Linked DNA regions of Homo sapiens: all the other regions are linked to region 2. The links are contacts of gene promoters, found by promoter capture Hi-C in human tissues and cell types (Jung and others, 2019). All regions are on one chromosome and are shown on one strand. Each heading gives the region's core, a stretch centred on a gene start or on the middle of the fragment in contact. The rest is flanking DNA. Distances are from core to core; before and after follow the strand shown. Region 1 has its middle 16 kb from the start of INSM1. Region 2 holds the start of NKX2-2 (NK2 homeobox 2). Region 3 holds the start of FOXA2 (forkhead box A2).

Evidence for each region. Contacts are between HindIII fragments. The study calls those that stand out against the background at their distance.
Region 1: a fragment that was not itself captured here is called in contact with the fragment with the promoter of NKX2-2 in region 2 in 1 of the 25 tissues and cell types used here (spleen).
Region 3: a contact is called between the fragment with the promoter of FOXA2 here and the fragment with the promoter of NKX2-2 in region 2, in 1 of the 25 tissues and cell types used here (H1 embryonic stem cells).

The regions. Positions count from the first base shown.
Region 1 is chr20:20,382,604-20,385,843 of GRCh38, forward strand. No RefSeq gene overlaps it. Among named protein-coding and RNA genes, the nearest start is that of INSM1, 16 kb to the left of the region's middle. The HindIII fragment of the contact is 6,215 bases long and covers 1-3,240 here.
Region 2 is chr20:21,512,486-21,515,782 of GRCh38, forward strand. NKX2-2 (NK2 homeobox 2) reads right to left here and starts at 1,579. Exons shown (of 2, transcript NM_002509.4): 1 at 926-1,579. The coding sequence starts at 1,184. RefSeq lists an enhancer at 3,276-3,297. The HindIII fragment of the contact is 15,862 bases long and covers 1-3,297 here.
Region 3 is chr20:22,582,941-22,586,661 of GRCh38, forward strand. It overlaps FOXA2 (forkhead box A2), which reads right to left and starts at 1,632. Exons shown (of 2, transcript NM_021784.5): 1 at 1,252-1,632; 2 at 1-214. The coding sequence starts at 1,338. RefSeq lists enhancers at 1-237, 1,662-2,417, 3,173-3,721. The HindIII fragment of the contact is 10,630 bases long and covers 1-3,310 here.

The sequences.
Region 1 (3,240 bases), core at 225-2,724, 1.1 Mb before region 2:
TATTTTTTGTAGCGATGGGTGGGGGGGGTCTCACTTTGTTGCCCAGGCTGGTCTCGAACCGCCGGGCTCAGGTGATTCTCCCACCTTGGCCTCCTACAGTGTTAGGATTACATGCGTGAGCCACTATGCCCGGCCTGCATGTGAATTTTTCCATTTGGCCTTCACAACAATCCTTTATAGATTATGATTCATTGATTTGTATATTAAGAAAAGTCTGAATGTTGAATGCCTTGCCCTCAATCAGAAGGCTCTTCATCTAAGACATAGAGAGCAGAACCCAGGTGTCTGGCTCCTTGATGTAGCCCTCCACAAAATGAGGTGGTCTCGGTTCACTAGTAGAATGCACTGTTGTATGTAAATGCCTTCTGTACATTGTCTTGAAAACAACCATTAGGTCAATGTCCCAAGCACTATGACTGTGTAACAACAGATCTCCCCAAAACTGAGCATTTACAACAACAACAGAGATTTATTATATCTAATTATTTGTGTGGGTCAGGAATTCAGTAGCAGCCTGGCTTGGTGGTTCTGGCTTGGGGTCCTTCATGAAGTTACACTGAGTTTTCCACTGGGGCTGCAGTCAAGTGAAGGGTTGATTGGGGCTGGAGGATCTATTTCCAAGATGGCTCCCTCACATGGATGCTGGTCTCTATAGCACTGCTTGAGTGTCCTGACAGCATGGTGGCTCTCTCCAAAGCAAGCCATCCAGGAGACCAAAGTGGAAACTGTAATACCTTTATGACTAATCTTGGAAGATATATCACTTTTGCTGAGTTCCATTGGTCCCACAGGTCATCTCTGAATCAGCATGTAAAGGACCACGCATAGGTATGAATTCCAGGAGGTGATGATTGCTGGGGCAATCCTTGAGGTTGGCTACCACAATCAGTACTATCGCCCCAAGTCCCAGGTGAGGAAATGAGCCAGAATGACTAGGGAATGGCCGCTCAAGAGTGTGTGCAGGTGGAATCGGAAGCCAACACTGATTCCTAGGACCACGTTCCTCTCCAATCTATGACACAAGGTGAATTTGTGGTGTATTTTGATGCATTTATGTTAGTATTTTCAAAAATTTCTTCAAAATTGAGAAATTCTTTGGAACATTATCATGAAAAGACATACGGTGTGGGCACACTGATTGGGAGTCCTCACTTTGGTCAACAAATGCCTCGTTTTGTCATGGCTGAAATTATGCCTTTTTCCTGGGTGCCCCTTAAAATTTTTCTTTTCTTTTCTTAAGCTGTTGGGTAATTTACTGAGTTATCCTATACAAACATGGGAAAACATGGGTCCTAGCTTCATTTTTAAATATAACTCCAAAACCGACTTTATAGAATTCAAAAGTGGTCAAATAATCAATCTATTAGGACTATAATGACTGTCTCAGTTAGCTTGTGCTGCCGTTAACAAAATACCATAGACTGAGTGGCTTAAACTTAAAATAATAGGAATGGCGTGAACAACAGGAATTTATCTTTCACAGTTCTGGAGGCTGGAAAGTCTAAGATCAAGGAGTGGGCTGATTTGGTTCTCCAGTGAAGACCTCCTTCCTGGCTTGCAGACAGCAGCCTCCTCCCTGTGTCCTCACATGGCAGAGAGAGAGAAGCTCTGGTCTCTCTTCTTCTAAGAGCACTAATCCCACCATGGAGACCCCATCCCCAGGACCTCATCGCAACCCAGTCACTTCCCAAAGATCCCACCTCCTAGTAAACACTGGGGGTTAGGGCTTCAACATATGGGTTTCGGGAAGACACAAACATTCAGTCCATAACAATGACATATACTCTCTGACTCAGTAATTTCATTTTTTTTTGGAAATTTATCATACAGAAATAAAAGCAGCAGTGTGTCAGGATATAGGCGTGCTGGTGTTTATTACAGGTGTCTTTGTTATGACAAACACTGGAAGCCACCTTAATGCACAGATGGGCTGAGTAAATTAAGGTACATCTGTATTAAGGAATAAAATGCAACTACGGAAAATGATAAACTAGATGGAGGGGTGCCTATGACACTGTAAAGTTTAACAAGGATGTTGTAGAATAATGTGTATTGTATGATGCTATTTCTATGTCTTTGCATTAATCTGGAAAGAATGTTCCTTTTTTTTTTTTTGGAGACAGAGTTTCACTCTGTCACCCGGGCTGGAATGCAGTGGTGCAGTCTCAGCTCACCGCAACCTCCGCCTCCCGGGTTTGAGCGATTCTCCTGCCTCAGCGTCCCGAGTAGTTGGGACTACAGGCATGAGCCACCACGCCCTGCTAATTTTTGTATTTTTAGTAGAGACAGTTTCACCATGTTGGCCAGGCTGGTCTCGAACTCCTGACCTCAAGTGATCCATCCGCTTTAGCCTCCCAAAATGCAGGATTCAGGCATGAGCCACTGCTCCCAGCTGAGAATGTTCTTTTGAATAACCTGCTTATCAGTCTTAGGGAGATGGGGGTTGGAATAGAGGCAGATCATTATTTTTAAGAGAAAAAAGTATAGAACACCCGATGTAATATACAAATTTGTACTTTGGCTATTTCATTAAAATCTTGATCATTAGTAAAAAAAAGAAAAAAAAAACCTTCCTTGATTAAAAGAAGCTCCTGATGTGAGTTTTCCCACCAGCATTTTACTCTCGCCTTTAGGTTGAAACTGTTCCAGGGGGTCACTTTTCCTGGTGCCTGAAACGAAGATCCAAGATTTCCCCAAAGAAAGCTATAGAAATAACTGTTTCCACTGGGCCCATAATCAGCCATCAACATGGAGGACAAAATGGGGTGACATTTTTTTAAAAGGAGAAGATGATACCATTAATGTACCGCCCTTGCTGGTTCCCACTGCTCCGAGACATTTGCCGCAGGCGCTCTGCAGGTCGGGCGGGAGGGAGACTGCTATTGAGGCCCTCTGCACTTAGCCCAGCGGCCATTTCTTAGGGAATATTGATCAAAAGTACTCTCCTCTATCATCTGAGGGGCATAATGCAGTCCCTGAGTATTCACGGAAAAAAGCTTTTCTTTGCCAGGCTATTTTCTAAAGTCAAAAAGATCCTTTCAGGATCTATAATAGCAAGCCCCTTCCCACCTCACGCCCTCAGTGAGAAGCACACTCCAATTTCCAGGCCCTGAGGACCCCACGCCAAGGAGGAAGCCGAGGGCTCTGACCTCTTCATGGAAAATATTCCTTGTCAAACTCAACAAGCATTTTCACGGGGGTGGGGGGAACATAAATGGAAGATTAGCAATGACACCTGAC
Region 2 (3,297 bases), core at 329-2,828:
CTGGGGGGAGGGGGAGAGAGAAGCGCGTCAGGCGTCTGGAGGCCGCGCGCAGCCTGCACCAGACTCGGAGCACCCTGGATCCTCCGTGCGACCCTGGACCTCCGCGCCTGGCAGCCCAGCCCCGCTGCCTTTGCCATGACCCCTGCCTTCCTCTACGCCTGACGAAGACGTCGGGACCTCCCAGGGTAAAGAGGGAAATCCGTAGGAGTGGGGGCTAGGGGCTCGCCTTTCAAGGGGCTCACATAGTGTGGGTGAGAATTTGGGGGGGGAAGTGGCACTGAAGATCATCGCGGGTTAAGGGCTCCGGCGCCCTTAAGCGGTTTCCTCTCCGGCGAGACGTGGGCAGATTTTTAAAAGAAATACCCCACAATCCCAGCATTGATCGGCTCGGCCATTTAAGGCAGGTTTTTGGGGGCTTTCGTTTCTGCTTTCGGGCCTTCTAGACACCCCCTGCACTGCACAAAGCGTCCTCTATGATCGCGCAGGGGGCAGGGTGAGCTATTTATACCCGGGCCACCCGAAGCCTCCCCACCCTCCACCCGTACCCGGACGAGGCTCGCTGGCTACCTCCAGGGCGCCAGGCCAGTCCCTCCCAGCGGCCGGAGTCCGGGGGCTGCGGCTGGAGCCATCGGTCCGGGTTGACATCATATACCAGCCCCTGGGAGGTATAGCCCTTCTCCCTCTTTCTCCTTAACTTCTCGCATTGAAAAAAATTTTGGAGACCAAGTTCTTTCCCGGAACTAAGGAGGCTTGAAGAGGAGGGCAGAGGACATCCTATACAGGTGTTAAAAATCTTTCTACGGATCCGAGTGAGGGGGTCCGGGCTTACATGGCCCCTTCCCCTTTCACTCCCAGCGTCCAACCCGGGCTGCGGCTGCAGGAATGGAGGGGACCACGGCCTCGGCAGCCAAGTTTTGCTACTTACGGGAGTACTGAAGGCCCTCGGTGCTGGCCAGCCAGCGCGTGTACGGGTTGTCGCTGCTGTCGTAGAAGGGGTTCTTCAGGGGCAGGCTCTGCACCGCGTCCAGGGCGCCCTGCCCCAGCGGCCCGGCCCTCTTGGCTGGCTCGGGCCCCTCGTTCTCTTCCTCCGGACCTTCGGCCACAGAGCCCTCCTCATCGTTGGTGTCCGGCAGGTCTAAGATGTCCTTGACCGAAAACCCCGTCTTTGTGTTGGTCAGCGACATGGTTCGAGACCCCAAAATTTATGTCGCAAAGTTGTAGCTTCACTTGGTCAATTCGTGGCGCTCCCCTGCCCCGGCGGGCGGGGGAGGGGGGAGTTGGGGGGAGGGACTGGGGGAGGGGAGGGGGGAATTGGCTTTAATTATTGGGATAATTATTATTTTTAAAAAGAGAAAGAAACTGGGGATGGGGAGGAAAAAAATGAAGCCCAACCCAGTGCCTCTCTCTGTCTTCTTTGAAAGCACGCGGAAATGGACGCAGGAAGCCGGGCGGCCTGCGCGCCGAGCGCCGCGGGCCCCGGCCTTAGTTTCTAACTCCAGGAGGGGTGCCAAGGCGGCGTCAGCTCGGGCTCCGGCGGCCGCTCGGCGCGCGGTGGCGGCTGGTGGCGAGGAAAAAATGGGCCATTGCCCGAGCGATCAGTCCATATAAGGCTGGGCTCCACTCACGAACCTGGGGAGGCGGGGAGAGGGGGAGAAAGAGAGGGAGGGAGGGAAAGAAAGAGGGAGGGAGGGGGAGCGAGAGAGGGAGCGGGAGAAGGGTGGAAAAAAGGGGGAAGAGACATTAAAAACGCAAAGGTTGGCCACGTGTGGGCGGGTCTTGGGAGTCAAGTGGATGAAGACAGTATTTGCAGATGTGAAATTGTGGGTTTTGGGGAGCTCCGCGCTCCCAGCCAACGGCCCTCTAGAGCAAGATGAGAGGTGTAACGTGTCAATTAATTGCAAAGACGGGGCGAGCCTTTTTTTTTTTAAACCCAGTATTTACATACAAAGGGCCACCGCGTCGCTCGCGAGTCCACACACTTGAAAGGGCCGTTTTAACAAATTGCATCTTAAAAAAGGTGGGGGTGGGGAGGAGGAGGGGAGAAAACAAAACAGAAACCAGGAGGAGGGAAAAAATCCTCTTTAACATTCACCGGTTCCTACCTCCCCGCCCCCGCGCGCCCACCCCCGGCAAGCCGGAAAATTGGCGATTTGTGGCGCCTTTGGAAAAGGGGGAGGGGGCGAAGGCCGAGCTGCGGAAATCTCTCCTTTCCATCGTTGGTGGTTGCCTAAACAAGATCCGGTTCAAATGGCAAGAGCCCAACTTCTGTAAGCCTCCTAGGTCAATATTTTGGTTGAGGCTTAAGGATGAGTGCTAGAAATGACAAGGCAAGTAATTGATTCCAGTTAACCGCGAGAGAGCCCAAAACCCAGGAGAGAGCTCCGCTCCGGGCCGGCCAGAGCCACCACCAAGCGACCCGCCCCCTTCCAGCCGCCCTTTATTTGCTAAAGACTCATTTATTTCCTTCACTCCGCCTCCCCCCACCTCCCACCCCCAACCCCCCGCCTCCACCTCTCTGCGGCCAAGGAGGACGCGCAGTTCACTTTCTGCTTTGCGGGCGGTCCCGGGGAGGGCGGGGTAAGAGTGAGGAGCTCCAACTTCGTCTGGGGTCGGACCCTGGCCCTGCTGCCTCTGGGCTCTGCGGGCCTCTTTCCCCGGGTGGAGGAAAGGGCAGACGGCCCTGCTCTTTCCTGCCCTCTATTATCCCTCCCTCTCCGGCCCCCTCCCTCTCCAGCCTCTGGCTAGAGGTGGAGCAGCGGGAAGGCGGCGGGGCGGGATTGCGGGGGTGGGGGTGGGGGTTGTGTCTCCAGCCTGGGTGAAGACCCAGAAAGCTGCGGGGGAGGGGGGTCGCTGGGTGGCCCGACGATGCCTCGTTTTCTCCCCAGTTTTCTTCTCCCACGCGAGTTCTTTAGTGTGGTCTCTTTTTGGACGCCTTGGGTGCGTTCGGAGTACGCGCTCCACGTTTCCAGGTTAAGTCAGGTTAGTGTGAAGTTTCCAGCCACTCTCGGCTCTGGGAACTGAACTTTCCCGGGACTTGCACTTCCTCCTCGGCGCTGGGGTTGGAAAAGACCACGCCGCATTTGCCACCCCTTCTTCTAGTTAAAACTTTTTTGGGGGGGGGGTGCAGGGGTGTAGATTGGCTACCTGATGCTCGTTCGCCCCAGAGGAGTGTCAGGAAGGAGCTTTGTCTGGGGGCGGGGAGGGGCACAGAAGGCCACCCCTGCGGGGTCCAGGTCTAGTCTTCCCACAACCTGGGCTCCTCCGCGCGGGCCAAGCTGAGCGCGCGGGCACCGGGTC
Region 3 (3,721 bases), core at 382-2,881, 1.1 Mb after region 2:
CGGCCGAGCCGCCCATGCCCGCCATGGCGCCCGCGCCGGGGGACATCCCCGCCAGGGACGGGCTCATGCCAGCGCCCACGTACGACGACATGTTCATGGAGCCCGCGCTCATGTTGCCCGAGCCGCTGCCCATGGCGGCCGCCGACATGCTCATGTACGTGTTCATGCCGTTCATCCCCAGGCCGGCGTTCATGTTGCTCACGGAGGAGTAGCCCTGCGGACAGAGCCCCGGGAGGGAGGCGACAGCGTTAGCACCGCGGCTGGAGGGTGCCCAGACCTCCCACCCACCGCCCAGGCCTCCGCGTCCGGGGAGGCCTCCGGGGAGCCCTTTCGTCCCCGATGGCCCAGTCTCCGGACTCCGAGTCTGTTTCATTCAGGGAGAGTCATGATCGATCGCCCTTGGGAAGGTGGCGAGCGGATTGCTGCTTGGGCATGTGGCCCGTTCCTAGCCCTTCTCCACCTCGCCCAGATTCTAGAACAGGGGTCCCATGGAGTACTCCCAAGCCAGCACCCCAAATACATTCCCCTACCCCAGAGTCTCCCCAAACTCTCCCACCAGCATACTGAGCTGGCGCCGAGGCCCGAAGTCCCCGGACGCCACCTCCGGTCGCAGCAAGCAACCTGCGGGACAACGCGCGGGGCGCCTCGGGCTGCCTCCAGCGAAGACTGTCCCGGGCCCCCTCTGTCCGGTCTCCCTCCAGGGACCCCCTCCCTTGTCCCAGGGAAACTGCAAGGCAGTGCCTGTGCGGAGTGCGGGGGCGGCTGGAGGCACTGAACGGGGCAATAGGGAAAGAACCGAGACCTGAACCACACGCGGCTGAGCTTTGCAGGCAAAAACTTTCTTTCTCTTTGTCCACTAGTCTTTGACTCTGCCTCCACTTCAGCCCCCAACTCCTACCCATCTTCTCCTCCTCAGCTCCCCACCCCCTCGCCGGCCGACCTCCCACCCCTCCCCAGCCGCGCGCTGCCAAACATAACTCTGTTAGGATAGTGCGTGGCTCGGCCACGAAGAGGATTTGGAGGCGCCGCAAGTCAATATTTGATCACAAAGTTAATATTATCTCAAGGCTAACAGTGTGTCGTATAAAAAAGAGACCCATTTGATTCCAAGGAGGGCGGAAAAGGCGGCTGCCCAGAAAGGCTGGGGTTGTGGGGCGGGGTGGGGGGGTGCCAGCGAGGGAAGCGGTCCTGAGGTTGGGGAAGGAGCGAGCGCCGCCGCTCCACTTCCCCCTGGAAAAGACGAGCGCTTACCTCGGGCTCTGCATAGTAGCTGCTCCAGTCGGACGGCTCGTGCCCTTCCATCTTCACCGCTCCCAGCATACTGGAAGCCGAGTGCATGGCAGTTTAAAATTTAACAGCCACAACAAACGACCAGCAATCACCCCCCACCCCCACCCTCTTTTAAAAAAAAGTCAGCCAAAGCACCGTCCCCTCCTCCCTCCCTCTCTCGCGCTCCCTCTCCCTGGGCTCCACTCCCTCTCTCTCCCTGGGCAGGCCGGAGGCGGTAGTTGGAAGTGGGCGGGAGGTGGGGGGGGGCGAGGAGCGGAGGAGGCCCAGGCCAGCGCCCCGCGGTAGGGAGCACCCGCCGCCGCCGCGCTCACGGGCTGCCGGGTGGCGGCTGAGGTTGGCAGTGCCGAGCTGCCCCGAGGCGGCGGGAAGCGCGCGGCGCGGGGGCTAGTGGGGGGGTGGGGAGGAGGAGGAGGAAGGAGGAGGAGGAGGCGGTGGTGGTGGTGGAGGAGGAGGAGGAGGAGGAGGAGGAGGAGGAGGAGGAGGAGGTGTGGACCGCGGAGCGGACAAGTGCCGCAGTGACGTGGGAGGCTGGTGATATAGCGCGGCGCGCTGGCGCGGGCCTCCAATCCCCAGACCCGGGGCAGCCCATTTGAATAATCAGCTCACACCTAGGTGAGAGGTAGCCGCAGCCGGCGCTCCGCACCTGCCCCTCAGCGCCTGCCGTCCGCCCCACCGCCGCGGCGCCCCGCACTCCTGGGCGGGCCAGGGGAGCGGGCTGGGCGGGCGATCGGGCACGCGGGATCCCTGGTCGAGCCCCCTTTCCTCCCGGGTCCACAGCGAGTCCCCTGAGGAAGGAGGGACCTGGGAGGAAACCACCCTCTGGGGCGGCTCCGGCCTCCAGCCCCCGCCCCGTCTCATCGCGCCGGGCGCCCGGTGCGCCTGTCGGAGGGCGCGTCCAGCCTCAGTGCCCGGCAGATCCCTATGAAAGCCGGATTTATTTATGCCGGGTTTCTTCGCTCTCAGTGCTCATTCTCTGTCAAAACAGCAAGTCCATGACAGCCAATTTGCAAAGCGCTGTCCTATTTAGAAAAACTACGTACACACCTTTAACTCGCCCGCTGCTGCTCCTGCGAGGCCCCTCCCTGTTACAGTTCAGACCCGGAACGGCCTCGGGAGAAGCGCGGGGCGCACGGTCTGGCCGCCTCGGCTCTCCGACTCCTCAGACACCGGCCGCCAGGGACCCGCAGTGGGGCGGCCGGCGCCTGGCGCAAGCAGCCCCTCTAGCAGCGGCCGACGGTTGGGAGGCTGAGATTTGTCTCTGATATTCAGGCCGGCGTGTTTCAAGGTTACTTTTCAGTCACAACCGAGGTGCCCACAGCATTTCGTAACTAAAACAAACAGGGCAGGAGGTGGGGAGGGAGGGGTGAGGAGAGAAGAATCCAGGAATCAATGATGGGGCATATGGAGTTGACTTCAAGAGCGTCTCTGTCCTCTCTGTCTTCCAGAGGGACTGCTTAATAGAAATTAGAAACTCCAGCAATCGTATACTTTTATTTCCCCAGCAGCTCTTGGGTTCAAAAATTGTCTTCTGTTCTGGGTTAGCCTGTGAGCCCAGATTTGGAGTGGGGGGATATTGCAGGTGTTTGGATGTGGAGGCTCTTTCTTGGTTCTGAAAACCTGGCTGGACCTTGGGGATCCAGCCCTGTACCCACCCCCTCAGACACAGAGAATGCATAGGAACTAGTGGGCATCCAGCCCACCTGTCCAAAATTGGGGGCGATGGTGGCAGAAGACAGGCGAGATGGCAGACACGGAGCTTCGCATTGAAGCTTGAGTAAGGGTGAGGCTGGAAGGCAAGCGAGGAGGTAGCAGTAGGCACAGGGGAACCACTTCCCTAACCCCAGGACTCTCAGGTCTGCACGGTTTGGGACACAGAAGGAAGCCGCCGGCAGCATCTTTTGCTGCTGAAATGCAGATGGTTTGGACACTTCATAAAGAGGGCATTAATAAGCCCGCCGAGTGAGCGCCAGGGCGGGATTCTCCCACAAATTCAAGGTCTGTATCTCCGCGGAAGCCGTGCCTATCGGTCCCCCGAGTGCTGAAGGCTCCCACGAGGGGCAGGCCAGCCCGGTGCGCCAGGGAAGGAGCTTGATGGTGTGTACGGCTACGTAGTGAACGTGGAGGTGTGCGCAGCGGAGTCAGAGGGGCTAGATCCCCAGCATTTCCCACGGGGTCCCACCTAGCGCGTGGATGGGAGCAACTTCATCACTCCACCGAGGGCAGGGAAAGAGGAGTAAGCATTGGAGCTCAAAGAATGAGCAATTTTTCAAAGCTTTCTCCGCAGGCCTGGGCAGACACACACGCACACACACACACACCGCACCCCCAAAACTCAAAAGAATGTTATGGTTGACCTAGTCTGTGCGTGTGCTGTATGAGAGTATTTGTGAGCTTATGTGGGTGCCCACTTCCCTTTCTATTTTGCTCCTGG